Linked DNA regions of Homo sapiens: all the other regions are linked to region 4. Evidence: promoter capture Hi-C in 16 types of primary human blood cells and fetal thymus (Javierre and others, 2016). All regions are on one chromosome and are shown on one strand. The core of a region is centred on a gene start or on the middle of the fragment in contact, and the rest is flanking DNA. Distances in the headings are between cores, read along the strand shown. Region 1 overlaps KIAA1755. Region 2 overlaps LINC01746 (long intergenic non-protein coding RNA 1746). Region 3 has its middle 21 kb from the start of BLCAP. Region 4 holds the start of VSTM2L (V-set and transmembrane domain containing 2 like).

The links. The method cuts DNA at HindIII sites, captures the fragments that hold promoters and counts their contacts. A CHiCAGO score of 5 or more calls a contact.
Region 1: a contact is called between a fragment that was not itself captured here and the fragment with the promoter of VSTM2L in region 4, in 1 of 17 cell types (endothelial precursors). The highest score is 5.3, in endothelial precursors.
Region 2: a contact is called between a fragment that was not itself captured here and the fragment with the promoter of VSTM2L in region 4, in 8 of 17 cell types (endothelial precursors, M1 macrophages, M0 macrophages and 5 more). The highest score is 14.3, in endothelial precursors.
Region 3: a contact is called between a fragment that was not itself captured here and the fragment with the promoter of VSTM2L in region 4, in 1 of 17 cell types (endothelial precursors). The highest score is 5.5, in endothelial precursors.

The regions. Positions count from the first base shown.
Region 1 is chr20:38,207,029-38,212,604 of GRCh38, forward strand. It overlaps KIAA1755, which reads right to left. Exons shown (of 14, transcript NM_001029864.2): 14 at 3,475-5,576. Among named protein-coding and RNA genes, the nearest start is that of TGM2, 45 kb to the left of the region's middle. The HindIII fragment of the contact is 1,222 bases long and covers 1,395-2,616 here.
Region 2 is chr20:37,578,920-37,585,144 of GRCh38, forward strand. LINC01746 (long intergenic non-protein coding RNA 1746) reads left to right here. Exons shown (of 4, transcript NR_184035.1): 3 at 4,948-5,091. Among named protein-coding and RNA genes, the nearest start is that of LINC01746, 11 kb to the left of the region's middle. The HindIII fragment of the contact is 3,538 bases long and covers 2,890-6,225 here.
Region 3 is chr20:37,546,428-37,552,097 of GRCh38, forward strand. No RefSeq gene overlaps it. Among named protein-coding and RNA genes, the nearest start is that of BLCAP, 21 kb to the left of the region's middle. The HindIII fragment of the contact is 2,425 bases long and covers 1,157-3,581 here.
Region 4 is chr20:37,901,186-37,906,688 of GRCh38, forward strand. VSTM2L (V-set and transmembrane domain containing 2 like) reads left to right here and starts at 1,942. Exons shown (of 4, transcript NM_080607.3): 1 at 1,942-2,286. The coding sequence starts at 2,166. LOC124904896 (a long non-coding RNA gene) reads right to left here. Exons shown (of 3, transcript XR_007067576.1): 2 at 5,434-5,503. RefSeq lists an enhancer at 1,242-2,205. The HindIII fragment of the contact is 14,867 bases long and covers 1-5,503 here.

The DNA.
Region 1 (5,576 bases), core at 756-3,255, 310 kb after region 4:
ACTTACAGTAAAATACTGAATAGCAGTGCTGCAAGTGGGCATTCTTGTCTTTCTCCTGACCTCAGAGAGAAAGCTTTTAGTCTTTCACCATTGAATTTGATGTTGGTTGTGGGTTTTTCATAAATGCCTTTTATCATGTTGAGTATGTTCACTTTTATTCCTATTTTTCTGAGTGTTTTTATCATGAAAAGCTATTGGGTTTTGTCAAATGCCTTTTCTGCATTGATTAAGATGGTCGTGTGGTTTAATTTCCTTTATTCCATTAATTTGGCATATTACACTGATTGATTTTCTTATGTTTAGCTATCTTTGCACTTCGAGAATAAATCCCACTTGGTCATGCTGTATAATCCTTTTAAGATGCTGTCATGTTTGGTTTGCTAGCATTTTGTTGAGGATTTTTGCATTTATATTCATGAGGTATATTCATAAGTTTAGTAATTTTCTTTGTGATGTCCACATTTGGCTTTGATATCAGGATAAGAGTGGCTTCGTAAAATGTTAGGAAGTGACTTCATTCCTTTTTAATGGCTAAATAATATTTCATTATGTGTATATTTTTAAAATCCGTTTTTAAAAAATCCATTCAACAGCTAATCAACATTTGGGTTGCTTCTACTTTTTGACTATCAGAAATAATTCTCAATAAGCATTCATGTATAAATTTTTGTGTGGATATGTTTTCATTTCTCTTGGGTATTGACCTAGTAATGGAATTGTTTGGTCATATGATAACTTGATGTTTCACAGTTTGAGGAACCGGCAAACTGCTTGCCAAAGTAGTTGCACCATTTTACATTGCCACCAGCAGTGTATGAGAGTTCTGATTTCTCCACATCTTCACCAACACTTGTTATACGTCTTTTTATTATAGCCATCTTTGTGGATGTGAAACAATATCTCCTTGTGGTTTTGATTTGCATTTCCCTGATGGCCAGTAATGTTGAATATCTTGTCATGTGCTTATTGGCCATCTGTACATCTTCTTTGGAGAAAAGCCTATTCAGGTCCTTTGTCCAGTTTAAAATTTACTATTATTAATAGTAGTATTTAGCTGTGAGAGCTTTTTACATATTATTGATACAGAATATTATCTTTTATGGGCCCACACTTGCAACTCTCTTCCAAGGTCTGCCCTGGAGCTACCAGACTCTGCTTTGTGCCACATGATTCTGCAGAAAGCCTGAAGTGCCTTGGAGGTGTAAAATGTCCTCCAGAGTTCCCCCACGCAGTCAGGCAGAGGCAGGGACTTGGTCTGAAATTGCACCTTGGCTTCCCTCCCTTCCCTGTTCTGCTTGCCTTTCTGGTTTCTCTTGTGATCACCTCTTCAATGAATCACCTGTACCTGAATCCTCACCCCTAGGTCCACTTCTGGGGAACCTGACCCCAGAAAAAGCTTGGAATGGCTGAGGAAATGAAAACAAGTTAGTGCTTCTGGAACTCAGAAGACATGGAGATTGAGATGAGGCTGAAGTGGAGGGCAGAGGCTGACAACACAGGCTTTGTAGATCACAGAAAGGTTGGATTTTCTATCTGGAGAGCTATGAGGTGCTACTGTTCAGGGTTAAGCGGGGCTGACATTATATTACATTTTGAAATACCCCTCTAGTTTCTGGGTGGAGAACAGATGAAGGGGATCCAAGTGACTGCAGGAAGACCACTGCGGACCCTGTTATAGTTGTCTGGGGCTAGAGGATGGAGGCTGGGATGAGGGTGAGGACGATGGAGGGAGAGAGAAGTAGAAGATAACAGAGAGATCAGGAGAGTGGATTTAGGGGTTAAGGGGAGGTTTGAGGACAACTTGCAAGTTTCCAGCCTGGGTACCTGGATGGATGGTCAGTGCACAGAGAGGGAAGCAGGACTGGAAGGGCAGGTCAGAGATTCCACATGCAAAACACCACCAGTTTTCCTTCCTGGTCTGACCTAATCCCTCCATTTCACAGATGGGGAAAGGAGGTCCTAAGGAAGTACCTGACTACCCAGAGTTCCCCAGCATGCCCCAGGCAGAGGGCAATGGGACCCCCAGAGTCCTGCCGCCTATCCAGAGCACTTACCCTACAGGGGACTCTCTGGCTCTGGCCTCAGAGAGCTATTTTCAGCTGGGGTTTGAGACGAGGCAAATTTGTCCTGGGCTGGAGGCCAATTCACAGCCCCTGGAGAACAGGACATCTCTGCTTTATGAGGTCAGACTGTATTCTGACCCCAGCCAGCCACCCTGTCTGGGTCTAAAGTGGGTGTGACAGCCACCCTGTCTGTGTCACAAGGGTGTGAGGGGCCTACCTCAAAGTGGCTGACAAAACACACGCTCATCCACAATCCTGGGTTTGGCATTGATCCAGAACCAGGCCCAGACCCTGTGCTTTCCCCTTCTTGGCCCCTTTCCTGGCTGTGTGACCTTGGGCAAGTCATTGCCCCTCTCCAGGCTTTAGTCTTCCCATCTGTAAAATGGGGCCATCTCAGAGTATGACTTCTGTGACCCAAAGGGTTGTAGTAAATATCAGATGGGAAATAGATGGACAAAAAGTGCTTTGCGAACTGTAAAGTGCCTAGACTTCTATTGGGGCTCAGTCCTATGTCTGCCCCACATCACTGCCCAGCAGTGAAAAGTCTTTTCAAAGCTTTGTTCCTTCACAAGATGGCTACTCCTCTGGAAAGGAAGAAGTCTTGGTGTGGAACACAAGGATCCAGAGATCTTATTTTCCTGACCCAGCAGGCTTGGCAAATCCAGTGGACAGATGGAAAAACTGAGGAGCACCTATCTACTCAGAGGCACTAGGCTGTTAAGCCTGGATTCAAAAGCAGGGCTCTCCAAGATGAGAAAGATCCTCATCCATCCAACGCCTCCATTGGAAAGATGGGGTAAACTGAGCACCAGAGAGAGGAAGCAACCTGCCTCGGGTGACCAGGCCATCAGCAACAGGGCAGAGTGGCACCTGAAGTGCCTGACTTCCAGGCTGTGCTTCTCTTTCTGTCTCTTGCCTACCAGCCCCTTGAGCTTGAAAAAAGTGTTCCCATCACAGTGGGATGTTGACAGTCACATCACTGGCTGACTTGGGGTTCCTTGAAAGCCCATCTTCTTCCACCACAGCAGGCTTCAAACTTTGTTTAAAAATCCCATGGAGGGGCACTGTGGCCTCTGCCTCCTCAGAGCAGTCTCTCAGGGGCTGAGGCTTTGCTGATTCAAAGCTATGTCATCACTCGCAGGGAATCTCTGGGGGAGGCCATGCCATGCCATGCCCCTACTGTGGGCATATTTGGGCAAAGTCAATAAACTAGGCCCAGATCAAGTCCAGCTCTGCCCCTCACTGTGGCACTGGGCAAGGTACCTCCAAATCTCTCTGAGTTTCAGCTTTGTCCTCAGTAAAATAGGGTGGAATCAGTCCTCATAATGTTGTAAAAAAAATTCAACAAGCCCTGTAAAGCTTTTAGAGGATTTAGCTCAAAGCTAGGCACAAAGAAAATGCAAAAGAAATGTTAGCTGTTATTATTCGATATTTTTATACATTGTTACTCATTATGACATTTCATTTCTGCATTCCCTTCTTCCCCAGGGGATGCAGTGAGGGGAGAGATTGTTGGGGTACAGTTCTTTCTGGGGACAGAGGGATGCACAAGGTAACCTTGGGGACTCCTCCCGCCCAAGTATTCTTAGATTACCTGTGCCCGCTTTGCCCCCCTTCCTTCTAGCAGTAGCTGTGGTCTCTCACAAGTCAGTTTCCATCCCAGCACCCCAGTTTCTGTGGCTCCCTGCCTGTGGTACCCACTGGCTGGATGCTGTTGCTATGGCAACAGCATTTTAAAAGCCGTCGGCCCTCTCTGAGGCAACAGGCATGGATGGAGATGGGCTGATCAACGCCTCTTGCATCTTTGGGCCTGTCTGGATGGAAGGCAGGGAGGGGAATGCAAGAATCAAACCTGGCTTTGGGTGGAGGACTCAGGCCCCAGCCCCGGGTGTTCCCCAAATGCACCCCCACTTTGCTGAGTCACACAGGAAGAGCACTTGGCTACAAACGCAGATTCCAGCCACCTGCCAGCACCAAGAGTCTATTTTAATGTCTGGGGTAGGATTCCCTAGGAAGCCTTTTGACCGGCTCTGCTCATGGCTCTGAGGCAGGCAGGCCCTAGACCACACCTGGGGAAGTCTTCAGTCTTGGAAGATTCCTGAAGCCATTTTAGGTATCAAGTGTGTGACTCTTGGCTGAGACAGCTCCTGAGAAGCCCTAGTTGTCCTCCTGTGCCTGGCCCAGGCCTGCCTCTCTCCCCTTCACAGCCTCATTGTGGGGGACCTGTGCCCCACAGCCTCTTTCTGGAGCCAGGAAAATTCAGAGCTAGGTGACCAAGAGGCCACTTCAGTAATGCATCCTACTGCAGAGGTAAGGCAAACACTTTCAGCTTAATGACACTCCAGAGAGGCGCTGGCAGGGGCCACTCTGGCCAGTATGAAGGGTGGGGCTTCTGGATGCTCCATCTAAGATCCGACAGATAGGCCCCTTCCCACGGTCCCCAACCACCAGGACCCAGCTGCCCACAGAACCCCAATGGTACTGGGCCACAGAGGCTGGGCATAGAGAAGTGGAAGTTGGGCAGGGAAGGGGACAGAAGACATTGAGTTCAGGGAGGCTTGGTGGGGAGGTGAGAGAGAGGAGGGACCTCTAAGGCGGAGAGGATTCTCTCTGGAGGACAAGGACAAGGTTCCACAGGGTTCCTTGAACTTGAGAATGAAGGTCCCATGCCTGCTGAAGAGGCCTTGTGAGACAGGGAGCACAGAAGACATGTCCTTCCTTTCTAAGCACAGGAACCGGCCTCTGGCTCCAGGAGGCAATTCTCTTTGCCAAGACCAATGGAGCTGGCTGTGCGTGCTGTCTACGAGTGCCAGCTCCTGAGGGTTGGCAGATAAATGCTCTGGATGCCTCACGCCTCAGGGGGTGTTCAAGGATTCCATGCTGTCTTTCAGAGATCTCCAGAAAGATCCAGCTACAGTTGCCAACATGGAAATTTGTATGAGGGTGGGGCACAGTGGCTCATACGTATAATCCCAGCACTTTGGGAGGCTGAGTCCAGAGGATCACTTGAGCTTGAGATCAGCCTGCCTGGGCAACATAGCAAGACCCCATGTCTACAAAAAATAAATAAATAATAAGCTGAGCATGGTGGTGCATAACTGTAGTCCCAGCTACTTAGGAGGCTGAGGTGGGAGGATTGGTTGAACCCAGGAATTTAAGGCTATGATTGCACCACTGCACTCCAGCCTGGACACCAGAGTGAGACCCTGTCTCTGGTGGGGTCGGGGGGGGTGGGCGGAAAAGGCAATCCCAGCACTTTGGCAGGCCAAGGCAAGAGGATCACTTGAGCCCAGGAGTTTGAGACCAGCCTGGGCAATGTAGTGAGGCCCCATCTCTAAACATAAAATACAATGAAGTTTTAAAAATTAAAAAAAAGAAAATTTGCTTGACAACATACTCTTTATTCCCTTTGCAGATTCGCCTCCTACTCCCCCAGCAGAGGTTCCTGGATCAGCACCAAACACACTGATCCTTAAATCCTCATCTCAGGGTCCATTTTCCTGGAATCCAAGA
Region 2 (6,225 bases), core at 3,409-5,908, 320 kb before region 4:
GAGGAGTGTTGGGGCCAGTGAAGCCGGGGAAGGGGTGCCCAAACTAACATCCCTTCTCCACCAGCAGCCAGGCCAGCTCAGCCTCTGTGCAACTTTCCCTGCTTCTGAGTCTGGAGGTGGTTCTTATTATTGGCTCCAAATGACTTTTGCATCCATTTATTTGCTGCATTTTGATTTTGCATTCAATCTCTGGTCCATTCATGGTGTCTGCGCTACCTAGGGGATGCAAAATTGAGGCAGCCAGGAGTGCAGTTTGGACACGCCTGACAGCCACCACTCCTTGGAGGGAGGAACGCTTGACTGACTCCACAGTGGAAAGGCTGATGAGCAGGAGGCTGCCCCGCCACTGCCCCCTACTCCAGCCAGAATCTGCCAGATGGGCTTCCCACCCCGAAGCTGGCTTCTCCACTCCCCCGGCTCCAACACACATATCTCAGCTGGAGAGATGGCCACTGGGAACCCAGCCAGTACCTGGGGCCTGTAAGCAGGGCAGGCACTAGACTTCATAAAGGATTTGAAATCCTTCAGGGCTATGCAGGAGCATTTGGGCAGAGAGAGCAGAATATGAGTCCCAACTTGGTCCCGCCAACCTCTCTTCTTCATTCACCTTTAGTGGTGTTGTTTTGTTTCATTTTGTTTTGAGGTGGAGTCTCACTCTCTTACCCAGGCTGGAGTGCAGTGGTGTGATCTTGGCTCACTGCAACCTCCACCTTCTGGGTTCAAGTGATTCTTCTGCCTCAGCCTTCCGAGTAGCTGGGACTACAGGCATGCACCACCACACCTGGCTAATTTTTGTATTTTTAGTAGAGACAGGGTTTGGCCATGTTGGCCAGGCTGATCTCGAACTCCTGACTTCAGGTGATCCACACACCTTGGCCTCCCAAAGTGCTGGGATTACAGGTGTGAGCCACTGAGCCCAACCTAGTGGGGTCTTTCTAATAGACGATTTGACCTGGCCCCTCTCCTGCTCAAGACCCTTCCATTGCTCCCCACTCCCCTCAGGCTTGGGTACAAATTTCTGGCCTTCCAAGCCCTATCCACACCAGCCCCCTCTCTCAGTTCTTCCTAAGCTCCAGCATCTCCCAGTGGCTCCTATTTCCCCATGTTCACACCTTGGCAGAGGCTGTTCCCTTTGCCCAAACCATTTGCCACATTGTCCTTTAGGCAAACTCCTAGACACTCTCTGCAAATTGTGAGGACACCAGCTAGCCCTCTGCACCAGGTATTGCACTTCACACTTTATATGCCTTATTCACTTGGCACTCACAGCCCCTCTAAGAGAAATTCCCATTTGCAGATCTCCTGAAGTCAGCAGAGGCTCAGAGAAGTCAAGCAACTTGCCCTGGGTCACACAGTAGGATGGCAGGGCAGGCAGTGCAACTCCAGAGTCTATGCTCCTAACCTCAGAGCCTCAGAACCAGCTCAGAGCCCACCTCCTCAGAGCTCTCCCAGCCACACAAACGCCAGCCTCCTCCATCCCACCTCACTCCTGCTCTCAGCAGAGAGACCTCCCTCCTCATCTGGGGCTCCCATGGACCCAGGACGTTTTTGGTGATTACATTTCCACACTGCCTTTATTCCCTCATGTCTGGCTCTGTCATGAGATGCTGAGGCTGGTCAAGGACTGTGGCTGTGGGTTCCCAGTTCCCAGCATAAGGCTAGGCAAAAAGGGTAAATGTAACTAAGATTGGTCTCATCAGGAGCCCCGCAGAGATGACAGAAGGAGCAAATGAAGTAAGAGCTGTAAACAGGCTGGGTGCAGGGGCTCATGCCTGTAATCCCATCACTTTGGAAGGTCGAAGTGGGAGGATCACTGAGCCCAGGAGACCAGCTTGGGCAACATAGTGAGACCCACTCCCTCAACAAAAAATAAAAACTTAACCGGGTGTGGTGGCATGTTCCTATAGTCCCAGCTACTTGGGAGGCTGGGGTGGGAGGGTCGCTTGAGCCCAGGAGGTCGAGGCTGTGGTGAGCTGAGATCGTGCCACTGCTCTCAGCCTGGGCGAGACCCTGTCTCAAACAAGCAACAAACAAAAAACCAAGCTGTAAACAGACCTTGTGTGGCTTTTGTGTCCAGGAGGTGGGGAGGTGTTATTATATGCAGAGGTGACAGGCTGCACAGCAATGATCTGCAGTGTCTACACCATCTTTCCTCCACAAAGTCAAGATGGGGCATCATCTCCTAAAGGGTCTCTGAAAGCACACCACCATTAGCTGGTTCAGTATCACTCCATTTCCCCCTGCCCCCTAACCCCCAGCCTTGGGGAGACTGGGGGAGAAGGAGGGTGCTTCTGGGGAGGAGGGGTCTCTGATTGAAGTCATATATCACAGTGGCAGCTGAGGCAGAGAGATGGGAGCGATTTTTCTTCATGGTTTGCAGACAAATGTGGTGGACAGAAAATTGATGGCAACCTTTGGCAGCGAGAGACCTGGGGCCTAGGGAGTGGCCATGCCTGCCCGGGCAATGGGGATCACAGGCAACCACTCCCCGCGGACCCCCGGCTCCCACCTGAATCTATTGTCCTGGGCAGAGGCAAGGGGGCAGCCCAGACTTGGGGAAGACGCATTGAGGGGGCGTGGGAGGAGGGTATGTGTGAGGTGGCCTGGGTTAGTGCTGACTGTGTGACCAGGGCAAAGTCAGGCCCTCTGTAGGCCTCAGTTTCCCCGCTGGTACAGTGAGTTGTCAAGGCCAGCAGAATCTTGGGGAGGGATGTAGGTGGGCTTTTTCCCATATCTCTTATCTTTAGCTGTCTCGTAGGGTCTGGGAGAGTCAGGAAAATGGACGTAACTCTGGCAGAAGTCTCAGGAGCCCCAAAGCTACACATTTCCTGCTTCCAAATTATCCTTGAACCTAGAGGTTTGGGGAGCTTAGAATCTTAGAACCTGGAAAGCTTGTTTTCCTAGAAACCCAGATTCCTCAGCTCTGAATGCATTCAGTGTAACTCTCCACCCACACCCCAGGTGTGCAAGAAATGTAGCTTCCTTTGTTTTTAAATAATGCATCGAACTTGCATTTCAAGCTCCGTTCTGCCAGGATGGAAGAAACCCAGGCGGACCGGGCTTCCCTCTTTCATGGGGCTGGATGATACTTGGGGGACTGCCACAGGTCATGGGAGAGGAGAGGTGACTCCTCAGTTGTCTGCCTATCAAGACATGATGCCCCTTCTGACCCTCAGTGGCTGGTCACCATGGCATGCAACTGTCCACAAGGCTGCTCTGGTCTTTTGAGTCTTTCTGATGCTCCCACACCATGCTGGGCACAGGGGTCTCTGCTGGGCCATATCAGACCTGTGGACCCAGACTGGGGCTCAGCCTGGAGTAGGGCACAGGCCACCGTTGCTCTCAAGTCTTCTAGATGTGGCTGTGGATTCTGACATCACCCTCAGGCCTGGAGATGGGGTAGGACTCCTTTCTCAGAGGCCTGCAGGTTCAAGGGCTCCGGGTTTCCCTTCGACTCCTTTCCTGAAACCCAGCTGAGGGGACTGCACTGGGGATCCTAGGGGTGACTGGGAGCTGGGTCACATCTGTTAGAGAAAAAATTATTCCCACCTGGTCAACGTGGCAAAACCCTGTCTCTACTAAAAATTAGCTGGGTGTGGTGGCACATGCCTGTAATCCCAGCTACTTGGGAGGCTGAGGCTGGAGAATCACTTGAACCTGGCAGGCAGAGGTTGCAGTGAGCCGAGATTGTGCCACTGCATTGCAGCCTGGGAGACAGAGCTATCTAAACAAACAAACAAAAAACAAAACAAAACAACAAGAAAAACAGAAACATTTATTCAACGACACTTGTTGAAGAGTGGTAAGGTGGACTTTTTATTCAGGACCATGGCAACAGGGACCATTGCAACGGGAATTTGCGGTGGGGGAGAAAGAACGGGCTCAACTCCAAATACAGCATGGGCAAGTGGGATTTATGGCTAAGGAGCAGTGCAGGGGTCCAAGGATGGAAAATGACTGAGAGGAAGCATCAGGGGTGAGGGAGAATCTGACTCAACTGATCTAACAGGATTCTTGCTGAAGACAGGCCAGGGGGATCAGGCATAATCTGGGCCGTGGTGGAGGGTGAACAGCCTGATTAGATATGAAGGATGATCAGATATTGAGGATAGGGGGTTCTTGCTAAACTGACTTAGGGTTCTTGCTAAAACTGGATTTTGTAAGAAAGTATGCAGATGGGCTTAGCAGAGTTTCGGGAGCCTGACTAAAGTTTGGTCAAGTGAAGAATCTCTGCTACTCTCTAGAGTTACTCTCAAAAAAATAAAAATAAAAATAAATAAAAATAAACATGATGGGTAGAGAGGCTACACACCCTGTTCCCTGAGAGCATTTGCTTTTTTTTTTTTTTTTTTTTTGAGATGGAGTCTTGCTCTGTCACGCAGGCTGGAGTGCAGTGGTGCAATCTTGGCTCACCGCAACCTCTGCCTCCTGGGTTCAAGCAATTCTGTCATCTCAGCCTCCCGAATAGCTGGGATTACAGGTGCGTGCCACCACATCTGGCTAATTTTTTTTTTTTTTGTATTTTTAGTAGAGATGGAGTTTCACCATGTTGACCAGGCTGGTCTTGAATTCCTGACCTCAAGCGATCTGCCTGCCTTGGCCTCCCAAAGTGCTGAGATTACAGGCGTGAGCCACCACTCCCGGCCAAGCATTTTCTTTTCAGGGGTTGGGAGGAGAAAGAGAAAGGAATTGGGTTGGTGAGTGGTATATACAGGGGTATTCAATTGTATCTGTAACATTTTATTTATATATTTTTATTAGTTATAAATTATATATAAATATACATATACATGTGTTTCTGTATGTAAGTTGTTTATAAGTTTTTAAAAGAGAAGCATGGCCTCTGTATCCTTCCGAAGCTGACTTCTCTCCCTTCCTATTACTTTGCTACGATTCACATTTGTTGTTGCTTGTGGCTGTTGTTCATTCATTTTGACTGCTGGATAGCATTCCATTGTGTAAGGATATCGGAGGATGCAAGTCCCCAAGACCTCCCCGACACTGCTGGTGGAGTGCAAATTGATGCAACCACATTGGAAAACAATTTGGCAGTATCTCATGGAGGTGAATATTCAGCAATTCCACTCCCAGGTAAATACCCAAGAGAAACTCTTGCACACACACAGCAGCAGACATGACAAGAATGCTTATAACAGTTCTGTCCACAATAACAAAAACCTGGAAACAACCCAAATGCTCATCAACCCGAGAAGGAATAAATACGCTTGTTTGCTGACAAAATACATTTTAAAAAATAAATAAAAGGTAAGAACTGAAGCAAGTCAGGCATAATTCTAATATAAGTTAAAACTGGATCATGGGCACATTGGTCTTTATTAATTTATTCTTTGAATGTCTGAAGTAATTCATAACAAAAAGAAATCATGTTTTGAAAAATCTTGAATTGTAGCATCTTGGACTTAGAAGGCCTGTGATCTTTGGTGTCAGAAGGGGTTAGGGATTAGCTAGTCATGTCTGTGACATCCGGGAGCTTACCCAGCGAGCTTCCAGCCTTTGCCTGTGTACTCTCTGCAGTGGAGTGACCCAGAGTGCATGATAAGATTAACTCCAGGGGTGGGGTAGGTCAAGATACAAACATTACTCTCATCTGCAGATATTGTTCATAAGGAAGGGAAATGACCTAGAATGACACAGAAAGGGCTGATAACAAATCAGGGTGACCAAGGATGACACCTCCCCCCCGCCAACTCCACGAGGGGCTGACAAAACTGTGCCCTATCCTAGAGATAGGCTTCCGGAATGACCAGGATGGGTCAGCATAGCTAGAAAAGGGGGTCCCAGAGCAGAATGTGGTGCATGGGTCTGCCTGATAGAGGGAAGCTGGTGGGCCCAGGCCATCAGGCCAGAAAACTGCATCTTCCTCATCCCCTCCCCTCCAGAATCTTGTCCTATTCACCAAGTCCCCTTATGTTTTATAATTCAGTCCCCCAGCCCTTCTGGGACGTCTGTACTACATTTCTCTTTAACTTGAACAGCATGCTGCCGGATGCATGCATGCCCGAACACATGGACCCTGTATTTACATATGCACATGCCTAGACCGGTGTGCACATGGGGTCCTGAGGAGTTAGTAGCTGTGGACATGCGTGTAGCTCCCCCTGGACCAAGTCCATGCCACACCATCACTGCTGCCAGATGACTCCCCAGCCTCTTCTTGGCTTCTCTGCCTTCCATCTCATCCCCTCCAAGCTCCCCATTGCAACC
Region 3 (5,670 bases), core at 1,119-3,618, 350 kb before region 4:
GGGTTTCACCATGTTGGCCAGGCTGGTCTCGAACCCCTGACCTCATGATTTGCCCACCTTGGCCTCCCAAAGTGCTGGCATTACAGGCATGAGCCACCGTGCCCAGCCCACGTCCTGTAAGTCTTTACTTAAGTATGTCCTATAAAGAGGCTGACCCTGACCATCCTTTCTGAAACTGCAACCTACCCCCACCCTCGAATCCCTCTCTCCCTGCTCTATGTTTTTCCCCATAGCACTGATGGCTTGGTAAGATATTACATAATTTTTATTTAGTATGCTTATTGCTTGGTTTGTTTGTTTGTTTGTTTTTGTTTTGAGACAGGACTTCACTCTGTCACCTAAGCTGGAGTGCAGTGCCACAATTGTGGCTCACTGCAGCCTATGCCTCCTGGGCTTAAGCGATTCTCCCACCTCAACCTCCTGAGTAGCTGGGACCACAGGCCCACACCACCACACGCAGCTAATTTTTGTATTTTTGTTAGAGACTGGGTTTCACCAGTTGCCTAGGCTGGTCTTGAACTCCTGACCTCAAGTTATCTGCCCGCCTTGGCCTCCCAAAGTGCTAGGATTACAGGTGTGAGCCACCGCTCCCAGCTATGGTTAGTGTTTATTACCTGTCTCCTCCTCTACAATGAAAGCTCCATGTGGGCAGGGATATTTGCCTGTTGCGTTCACTGATGTAACTCTTTCTTTATAGCATAGTACCTGGTGAAATAGTATAGGTGCTCAGTGAATATTTGTTGAATATTTGGGTGTCCTCTAATTCAGTTCCGACACTGTCTACACAGAGACAGTGTCAGTTCACACAAGTTAAGGGCTCCGTCCCCAAGACTGCCACCCGTGCCCATCCACCCGTGCCTACCAGTCCGGGCCTCCAGAACTTCTGACTGATCAGCTTCAAGTTGAGCTTCCCACGACCCTCTCTTTGGATTCGATTAGTTTGCTGGAGCAGCTCACAGGACTCAGGGAAACACTTATGTTTACTGATTTATTATAAAGGATATTGCATAGGATACAGATGAAGAGAGTGAAGGGTGAGATTTGGGGGAAGAGGTGAGGCACTTCCATACCTTCCCCAGGGCGCCACCCTCCAGGAACCTCCCAGTGTTCAGCTATTTAGAAGCTCACCGACCCTGTCCTCTTGGGTTTTTCTGGAAGCTTCATGACATGAGCATTCCTTCCCCTAAGTAGGACCCTCTCGTGTAAGGGTCTTAAGACCCCAAATCAGAAAAGTAGGTGAACATTAGAATCCTGCCTTGGGGCAGGAGCAAGGAGGGCAGGAGAAGGCCAGAAAGAGGCCCACCTGAGGCCTGACACAAACATGATCGCAAAAGATTGGAACAAGGGCTGTGGGAGTTAGGAGCCAAGAACAGTGGGCGAAAACCGAAGTATATACAACACCACACCTCGACACGAAAAAGCCTTGCTGAGAGAAATTTCAAAAGACTGAAATAAATGGAGAGACATGCTATGTTCATGGGCCTTATGACTTGATATTAAGAAATTATTTCTTAACAAATTCATCTACAAATTAAACACAATCCCAAGGAAAATTCCAAAAGACTTTTGTAAAGGTTAATGAGATAATTCTAAACCTTATATAGAAATGGAAAGGACCTAAAATAACCAGAGTAATTAAAAAAAAAAAAAGTCAGCTGGGTGTAGTGGCTCACACCTGTAATCTCAGCTCTTTATTACTTCCTCTGCTTGAAGAACTTCCTTTATTATTTCTTGTAGTGAAGGTCTACTGCAAGTGAAATATGTCTGCTTCTATTTGTCTGGAAAGTCTTTTTTTTGGGATACCTAATAGTTGTACATATTTATAGAATACATATGACAATTTGATACATGTATACAATGGATAATGATCAAGTGAGGGTAATTAGGAACCTCAAACATTTATCATTTCCTTGTGTTGGGGACATTCCAAATCTTCTCTTTTAGCTATTTTGAAATATATAACAAATTCTTATTAACTGTAGTCACCCTACTGTGCTGTCGAACACTAGAACTGATTCCTTTTGTCTAATTGTATTTTTATACCCAGTAACCAAACTCTCTCTATCCACCCTTCCCTCTACCCTTCCCAGCCTCTGGTAACCAACATTCTACTCACTATATCCATCAAGTCTATTTTTTTAGCTCCCACATATGAATGAGAACATGTGATATTTGTCTTTCTGTGCCTGGATTATTTTACTTAACATAATGACATACAGTTCCATCCATGTTGCTGCAAATGACAGAATTTCATTGTTTTTATGGCTGAATAATATTTCATTGTGTGTATATACTGCATTTTCTTTATCCATTCATCTGTTGATGGACACTTAGGTTGATTCCATATCTCAGCTGTTGTGAATAGTGCTGTAATAAACATGAAAGTGCAGGTATTGGCTGGGCACAGTGGCTCACGCCTGTAATCCCAGCACTTTGGGAGGCCGAGGCGGGCGGATCACGAGGTCAGGAGATCGAGACCATCCTGGCTAACATGGTGAAACCCCATCTCTACTAAAAATATAAAAAATTAGCCGGGCCTGGTGGCGGGTGCCTGTAGTCCCAGCTACTCGGGAGGCTGAGGCAGGAGAATGGCGTGAACCCGGGAGGCGGAGCTTGCAGTAAGCCGAGATCGCGCCACTGCACTCCGGCCTGGGCGACCTAGCGAGACTCCGTCTCAAAAAAAAAAAAAAAAAAAAAAAAAAGAAAGTGCAGGTATCTCGTTGATATATTGATTTCCTTTCCTTTGGATAGCTACCCAATAGTGGGATTGCTGAATGATATGGTAGTTCTATTTTTAGTTTTTTTTTTTTTTTTTTGAAATGGAATCTTGCTCTGTCACCCAGGCTGGAGTGCAGTGGCTCAATCTCGGCTCACTGCAACCTCCACCTGCTGGGTTCAAACAATTCTCCTGTCTCAGCCTCCTGAGTAGCTGGGACTACAGGTGCATGCCACCATGACTGGCTAATTGCTAATTTTTTTTTTTTTTTTTGTATTTTTAGTAAAGGCAGGGTTTCACCATGCTGGCCAGGCTGGTCTTGAATTCTTGATCTCATGATCAACCCTCCTTGGCCTCCCAAAGTGCTGAGATTACAGGCGTGAGCCACCACACCCGGCCTATTTTTAGTTTTTTTAAGAAGCCTCCATACTGTTTTCCATAGTGTCTGTACTAACTTTCATTCCCACTAACAGTGTATGGGCATTCCCCTTCCTCTGCCTCCTTGCCAGCATCTGTTATTCTGTCATTTTGATAATAGCCATTTTTAATGGGTTGAGATGATATCTCATTGTGGTTGTGATTTGGATTTCCCTGATGATTAGTGCTGTTAAGGATTTTTTCATATACCTGTTAGCCATTCGTATGTCTTCTTTTGAAGACATAGAGATGCCTATTCAGGTATTTTGCCCATTTTTGAAACTGATAATTTGATTTTTTTTTTTTTTTTTTTTTGCTGTTAAGTTGTTTGAATACCTTTTATTTCTGGTTATTAGTCCCTTGTTGGATGGATAGCTTGCAAATATTCTCTCTCATTCTGTATGTTTTCTCTTCACTTTGTTGATTCTTTGTTCGTTTGCTGTGCAGAAGCTTTTTAGCTTGATGAAATCCCACTTGTCTACTTTTACTTTTGTTGCCAGTGCTTTTGAAGTCTTACTTAAAAAATATTTGCCCAGACCAATGTCCTGAAGGATTTCCCCAATGCTTTTTTTTTTTTTTTTTAATTTTTTTAGTATTTATTGATCATTCTTGGGTGTTTCTCAGAGAGGGGGATTTGGCAGGGTCATAGGACAATAGTGGAGGGAAGGTCAGCAGATAAACATGTGAACAAAGGTCTCTGGTTTTCCTAGGCAGAGGGCCCTGCCGCCTTCCGCAGTGTTTGTGTCCCTGGGAACTTGCGATTAGGGAGTGGTAATGACTCTTAACGAGTATGGTGCCTTCAAGCATCTGTTTAACAAAGCACATCTTGCACCGCCCTTAATCCATTTAACCCTTAGAGGACACAGCACATGTTTCAGAGAGCAGGGGGTTGGGGGTAAGGTTATAGATTAACAGCATCCCAAGGCAGAAGAATTTTTCTTAGTACAGAACAAAATGGAGTCTCCTATGTCTACTTCTTTCTACACAGACACAGTAACAATCTGATCTCTCTTTCTTTTCCCCACATTTCCCCCCTTTCTATTCGACAAAACCGCCATCGTCATCATGGCCCGCTCTCAATGAGCTGTTAGGTGCACCTCCCAGATGGGGTGGCGGCCGGGCAGAGGGGCTCCTCACTTCCCAGACGGGGCGGCTGGCCGGGGGGGGGCTGCCCCCCACCTCCCGGACGGGGCCAATGTTTTCTTCTAATAGTTTCATAGTTTCAGGTCTTTTATTTAAGCCTTTACTCTATTTCTATTTGATTTTTATATATGGTAAAATATATAAAGTTGTCTAGTTTCATTCTTCAGCATATGAATATTCAGTGTTCCCAGCACTATTTAATGAAGAGACTATTATTAATATTTCTCCAACGTATGCTTTTGGTGCCTTTGTCAAAAATGAGTTGGCTGTAAAGGCATGGATTTATTTCTGGGTTCTCTATTCTGTTCCACTGGTCTAAGTGTCTGTTTTTATGCCAGTACCACGCTGTTTTGGTTAACTTTGTAGTATATTTTGAAGTCAGCTAGTGTGATACTACCAACTGGTTTTTTTGCTCAGGATTTCTTTGGTTATTTGGGGTCTTTTGTGGTTCCTTATACTTTTTTTTTTTTTTTTTTAAAGATGGAGTTTCGCTCTTGTTGCCCAGGCTGGAGGGCAATGGTGTGATCTTGGGTCACCGCAACCTCCGCCTCCCGGGTTCAAGCGATTCTCCTGCTTCAACCTCCCGAGTAGCTAGGATTACAGGCATGCAACACCACACCCAGCTAATTTTGTATTTTTAGTAGAGATGGGGTTTCTCCATGTTGGTCAGCCTGGTCTTGAACTCCTGACCTCAGGTGATCCACCCACCTTCGTCTCCCAAAGTGCTGGGATTATGGGCATAAGCCACCATGCCTAGCCCCTTTACACATTTTAGTATTGTTTTCTCTTATATCTGTGAAAAATGTCATTGGAATTTTGATGGGGATTACATTGAATCTGTAGATTGCTTTTGGTAGTATGAATATTTTAACAATATTAATTCTTCCAATCCATGAACATGTGATAATCTTTCCTTTTTTTTGTGTATGTGTGTACTCTTCAACTATTTTTTTCTTTCTTTCTCTTTCTTTCTTTCTTTCTTTCCTTCTCTCTTTCTTTTTTTTTTTTTTTGAGACAGGGTCTCACTCTGTTGCTTAGGCTGAAGTGCAGTGGTGGCATGATCATGGCTCACTGCAGCTTCAACCTCCCAGGCTCCAGCGATCCTCCTACCTCAGCCTCATGAGTAGCTGGGACCGCAGGCATGTGCCACCATGCCCAGCTAATTTATGTGTTTATTTTTTGTAGAGATGGTATCTCCCTATGTTGCCCAGGCTGACCTTGATCTCCTGGGCTCCAGTGATCCTCCTGCCTTGGCTTCCCAAAATGCTGGGATTACAGGCACTGTAGCCAGCCCTTCCTCTTCAATTTCTTTCATCAGTGTTTTATAGTTTTCATTGTAAAAATCTTTTACTTCTTTGGTTAAATTTATTCCTAGGTATTTTTTGTGGCTATTG
Region 4 (5,503 bases), core at 692-3,191:
GGCTGCTATGTGATCTGGAGGATTCTCAGTTTCCATATCTTTATGATGGAAGCAGTAGTTCATTTCGCTGGGAGCGGGGTTCAGGGTAGTTAATGAATGAGAAAACACGTGCATAGAGTCCAAGACGCCTGGCCAGCCCAGGATAACCTAAACACCACCTCTGTGTGGGAAGAAAGTGAGAAGTGAGAGAATCAGGCAAACACGGCCCCTTCCTCCAAGGCATGTGGTCCAGAAGGTTCGGGGGGTGGGGGAAGCGGTCGACGCTTGGGACCTGTCCTCGGTACTGAAGGGAGCGCGGGGGCTGTGGACGGTGCTAGAACACAGTGCTTGTAAGTGCGGGACATCGTGGAGGAGGTGTCCTTAGTTTGGAAGGAGCTGGATTGTTGCTGGCTACCACGGGCCCCATCCGGTGTGCTACCCCCCCCCCATAATACTGGAAGGGGGGCGCTAAGACAGAGGGAAGACGGCGAGGGGCTATGTTCCTTGGTCTCTAACCTTGTTCTCAAACTTGGGCGCTGTACACACGGCTGGACGCGGGATCCACCTGTGTTCTGGAGTGGGGAGTGGGCTGTCGGAGGGGTTGACCCTGTTCGACGGGGACGGGGAAGAAAGTCTGAGGGTCTGTCCACGGTGTGAACCCTAGCATCAAAGGGCCAGTTGAGACGCTGTCCACGGTGCCCAAAGGATGGGCCCGGGTGGGGCGGGGGGCGGGGGGCGGGGGGGGGGCTGGCGCTGTCCTCCTCCGTGGTGCTGAAACCGGGAGGACCAGGCTGTGTGAGCAGGGAGGCCTGGGGAAGGGCAAGGGATGAGAGCAGGAGGGACCCCGCCCAGGAGTCAGGGGCCTCGCCCGACTCGCCGTGGGACCTCAGAGAAGCTAATTACCTGATTTCAGGCGCTTCCTTATCTTTTAAATGGGACCACAGTTCCGCCCTCCTGTCTGTCCCATCAGCCCCAGTAACACGGCTTGGGAAGGAACTGGAGGACTTTGTTGGATTCTTGCTCTTGGGAATGGGAATGGTGCCCTATCCCCCTCCCCTGCCACACTCACACACACATACACCCACGCATACGCGCGCGCACACGCACACGCACACACACACTCATGCACACACACACCATCAAGGCTCATTGGTCTAGGGAAGGAGCCTACAGTCCAGAAGGGGGCGATCCCATCCACCACATAAGGTCCAGTATCTTCAAGAGCCAGGAGCCGCAACAACTAACTGGCCTGTCTCTCTCCCATTACAAAGACTCGAAAACTGAGTCCCAGAAAGGGGAACACCGACAATAATAACTACTGAGCTCCTACCACGTAGGCAGCATTATGCTAAGCGCTTTGCATGCACGATTTCGCAAATCCTCACCAGGACCCCCGCAGACAGCTATTACCCCTATTTCTCAGATGAAGACTTCGAGGTTCAGAGAGGGGTAGACACCCGGACGCGATCACACAGCGAGCCGAGGTCGGCGGCAGAGCTATCACCAGGTCCCCTGGGTCTCAGCCCAGGCTCCCACCCTACCTCGCCCTCACCCCCAGCCCCACTGGCCCCTGACCCCGGCCCCGCCCTGCCGGTAAAGTTAGGAGCCTCTGAGTGCGCTGGCCTGGCGGCGGGTGCCCTGGCTTTTCTCCCTCTCCCCGCTGGACGGCATTTCTGTGGCTGAAGCCCGTTGGGTCGTGCTTTGCGGGAACCGCGTCCCTGGGGTGGCTCTCTCCGCCCCATCCCGGCCCCGCCTCCGCACTCGGGCGGGGGAAAGTTGCGGGTACCGCTTTAAAAATCCCAGCCTGGGCAAAACTTTGATGATAAATCAAGCGGCAGATCCCTCCGCCGCCTGCTCCGAGCGGGAGGAGGGAGGGGAGGAGGGAGGGGAGGAGGGAGGCGGGAGGAGGGAGGAGGGTGCGGCGGCGGCGCGGCGTGGCCTTCCGCGGAAGGGAAGAGTCCCGCAGTCGGAGGCGGCCGGCTGGGCGTGCGCTCGCTCCCCGAAGCCGGGGCTGGGCCGGAGCCGGGCGAGGGCTGGGAGCTGGGCCGGGTCCGGGGACAGCGGGCGAGGGGCAGCTGCCGGAGCCGGGCAGCCAGGCCGCTCAGGGCAGGGGACAGCTGGCGCCGGTTCTGCGGTCTCCGGGGCCCAGATGTGAGGCGGCGGCGCCCCCGGCCCGAGAGCGCACGATGGGGGCCCCGCTCGCCGTAGCGCTGGGCGCCCTCCACTACCTGGCACTTTTCCTGCAACTCGGCGGCGCCACGCGGCCCGCCGGCCACGCGCCCTGGGACAACCACGTCTCCGGCCACGGTGAGTTCGGTCGCCGCCCCCGCGGACTTCCCCACCAAACCCCAACCCGGGCCGCGCCACTCCAACTTGGCCGCCCCGGGGCTCGAACCGGCGCCAGTCGTGGCGGGCATCCCGGGGCGCCCCCTGCCGGCGCGGTGGACCCGCCCTGGCACCCTGGCCCTGCAGAGAAGGGGGCACCCGGGGCGCACCCCCGAACCTCCTCCCCACACACTCGCGCGGATACGCACACCTGCATGGCCACACCGATATGCACAGCCGCGGACACACTCAGAGCCACAGTCGCTGCTTTCTCACACTCACAACTCCTACCCTGCACATCTCCACACACCTCAGGTCCCCCTCCTCACTGCAAGCCTTTACACTTATGCCCACTACACACGCACATCAGGCACTGCGCCGGTGGGCTCACTCTGCCAGCTGGCGCACACGCTTCGCCACAACTCTTGCCTGCCCACCTGCAGACACACTGGTGCGCGCGCGCGCACACACACACAGGCACACACATACACACACATGAACACAATTTGCTCACCCACTCCTCTCTGCCCATCTGCCTTTACTCTTCTGGGTTTAACCGCACAGAGGCCCTTGTCCTCTTCCTCTCCACACCCAGCCCTATACCACTGGAAAGGTCCTTGGGGGCAGAAGACCTTGTTTCTTGAGAACTGGTCGCCTGGGGCTGCAGCCTCCCAGTTGGGCGGGTGGCACCTGGTGGAAGCCCCTCAGAGCCACCGGAGTAGTTGGGGTTGCTGCTTGCAGCCAGAGGCATGGGAGTGGGAGTGGAAGTGGAATGCCGGGTGCTTTTGTCTGCCTCTGGGGATGGGCAGGAAGCCGTGCCATCCTTCCATAGGGTACCCCCATCCTCATCCTCGGCCCTAGAGGACTGAAATGTGGGAAATCTCAACTCCAGCCGCTGTGGAAGCCGGGGAGCAGACAAGCATTCCCAGCACTGGCTGGCTGAGTGTCAGAAGCTCCTGCTAGCCCCGAAGGAGCCCAAGTTGGCAGCAGAGTTGGACTGTATGAGCCCGGCAGCTGTGGGGGCTCCCCCTGACCCCTGTGAGCCTGGCTCTGGGATGGAGGCTCGAGCATAGATGAAACCAAAGGAGACCTTTCTTCCATGCAGCCCTTCACTAGACAGGCTGACAGCCTTGTTGGGGAGGCTGCAGCCCCAGTGCTGGGCACTGTGGGCCCAGGGCTGTGGGGAGGTTTGCACAAAGGCCAGATAATTGGATGATTTATTCTGATGGGAGTGAGTGGGGGTAAGGCAGGGTAGATAATCAGGGAAGGTTTTGCTGGGGTATGACACATGAGTGGGATTGCTCCAGTGGAGAGGGGGGCTTCGAAGCCATCCTCAGGGTCTCTGCTTTTTGGGAACCATGACTCCCCGCCCCCTTCTGCCTCACCATGTTTGGTAGTAACTGCTGTGTGCATCATTTACATACCCTTCATGCCCCTCACCTCATTTCTACCGACCTGGCTAGAGCGGTGGTAAATAAGGAAAGGGTTCTTTTGATCCTCAACTTACAGATAGGGAAACCAAGGCTCAGAGAGGTGAAGGAAGTTGCCCAAGGTCACACAGTAAGAGAGTGACTGAGCCAGGACAGGCCCCAGGGTCTGTCAGGCAAAGACAGCGCTTTTTTCCAGGACATTCATCTCCCTGTCAGATTCCCTCCCATTCTAGGGAAACTGGGAATTCCTCCCTCTCCACCCCTCCTCTCCTCGCTCCGCTCAGTCCCTTGGCACAGTTGGAACTTACACTAGGAGGGGTTTCCATGGAGGGCCTTCCCTGAGTTTGCAGTCCCGAGGGGTATGAGGAATGGGACTCTGAGGCTTATGGTCGTTCTGTCCCTAGAGCACCAGACCCCAGGGACTTGGGTGCCAGTCTGTTATTCCCAAGGCCCCAAGGTGGCTCCCCCCCATAGAAAAGCAGGGTCTGTCTGCCCTTTGTGTGACAGTCTCTACCTGTCCCCTGGTGCCAGGTAAGCTGAGGGGGCACAGCTCTGCCCAACCAGCTGTAATCTCCCCTCTGCACCCTGGAAGGTCAAGCTAAGGCCCAGGACAGGGGCTAGATGAGAAGGAGGCACCCCTAGTTGCTGGGGAACCTGGCTTCTCTCCTGAAACCCCCGTGTGGCTCTGGGCAAGTGAGCCACCCCTCTGGGTCTCCCTGTGTCCCTAAAGAAACAAAGAAGCCAGGCTGCTCTGCAGGGGCCAGGCTGCCTTCCCCCGACATTGCCAGGTTCAAAGTCACCAAGTAGTGACTGCCGAGGAGCCCCCACAGCTGCCCCTCTGCCGTGCCAAGCACCCGCCACCACAGGAAGGGTTTGGAGCCACTCACTTAATCACAAAAAGAAACTGTTATTAATGATAGTGAGACGCGGCGAATAAGTGGGTCATGTCTAATAAGCTATTTGTGTTCAGGAGGAGAATACCAATTTGATAAAAGCTGTGTGTGCTGAAAAAGCTCAGAAATTGCTGTTTAGCAGATTGGGGCCTGATCATTTCATTATTCCTGGGCTCCGTGTGTCCTCAGCTGATTCAGGAAATGTGGCCCAGTCGGGAAGGTGTCTCTGTGTCTGGGGGTGGGGGGTGGGGGCTGGAAGCAGGGGCTCCTGGGGAGGGGCACATTGACCCCAAGTGCTTGGTGGCTGCTCACCCCTCCAACTCCATCTGAGCCCAGCCCGGCCGCCGGGCTCCTGCCTTCCACCTGCCTGCCCTGGAGCTTGTCACAGGGAAAGCCTGCGGTCAGATGGGTCAGAAAGGACATCTGTTTTGCTTCCCATCTCCCTCCCACCTCCACTCAAGGTACTTGGAAGAGGGCTTTTTCGAGGTGTGAGGAATGAATGGGGAGCATGTATCTCAAGGAGGCATCAGGCACTGGGAGGTGGGGTGGTGATGGTCCGTGTCTGCACCTAGTAGGTGCTCAATAAACAGGAGTGATTTTGATTTTTTCTTATCAGAAAATGTTAACTCATTGCCCATGGGCACAGCAGGGATGGGAGGAAAAGGTGCAAGCATTGATGAAATGCCTACTGTGTGCCCCGTGCTGCCAAGCCCTTGCCAGTGTTAACTCACTCAGGCTGACCATTCATGCAAGGTTGGTGTTGGAGATAGGAGGAAACTGAGGCTCAGAGAGGGCCAGTGACTTACCCAAGGGTGCTGAGTCTGTACAGAGAGCTGGAAAGCTGTGTTTAAGATGAAGATGCATCTGGCAGCTCTG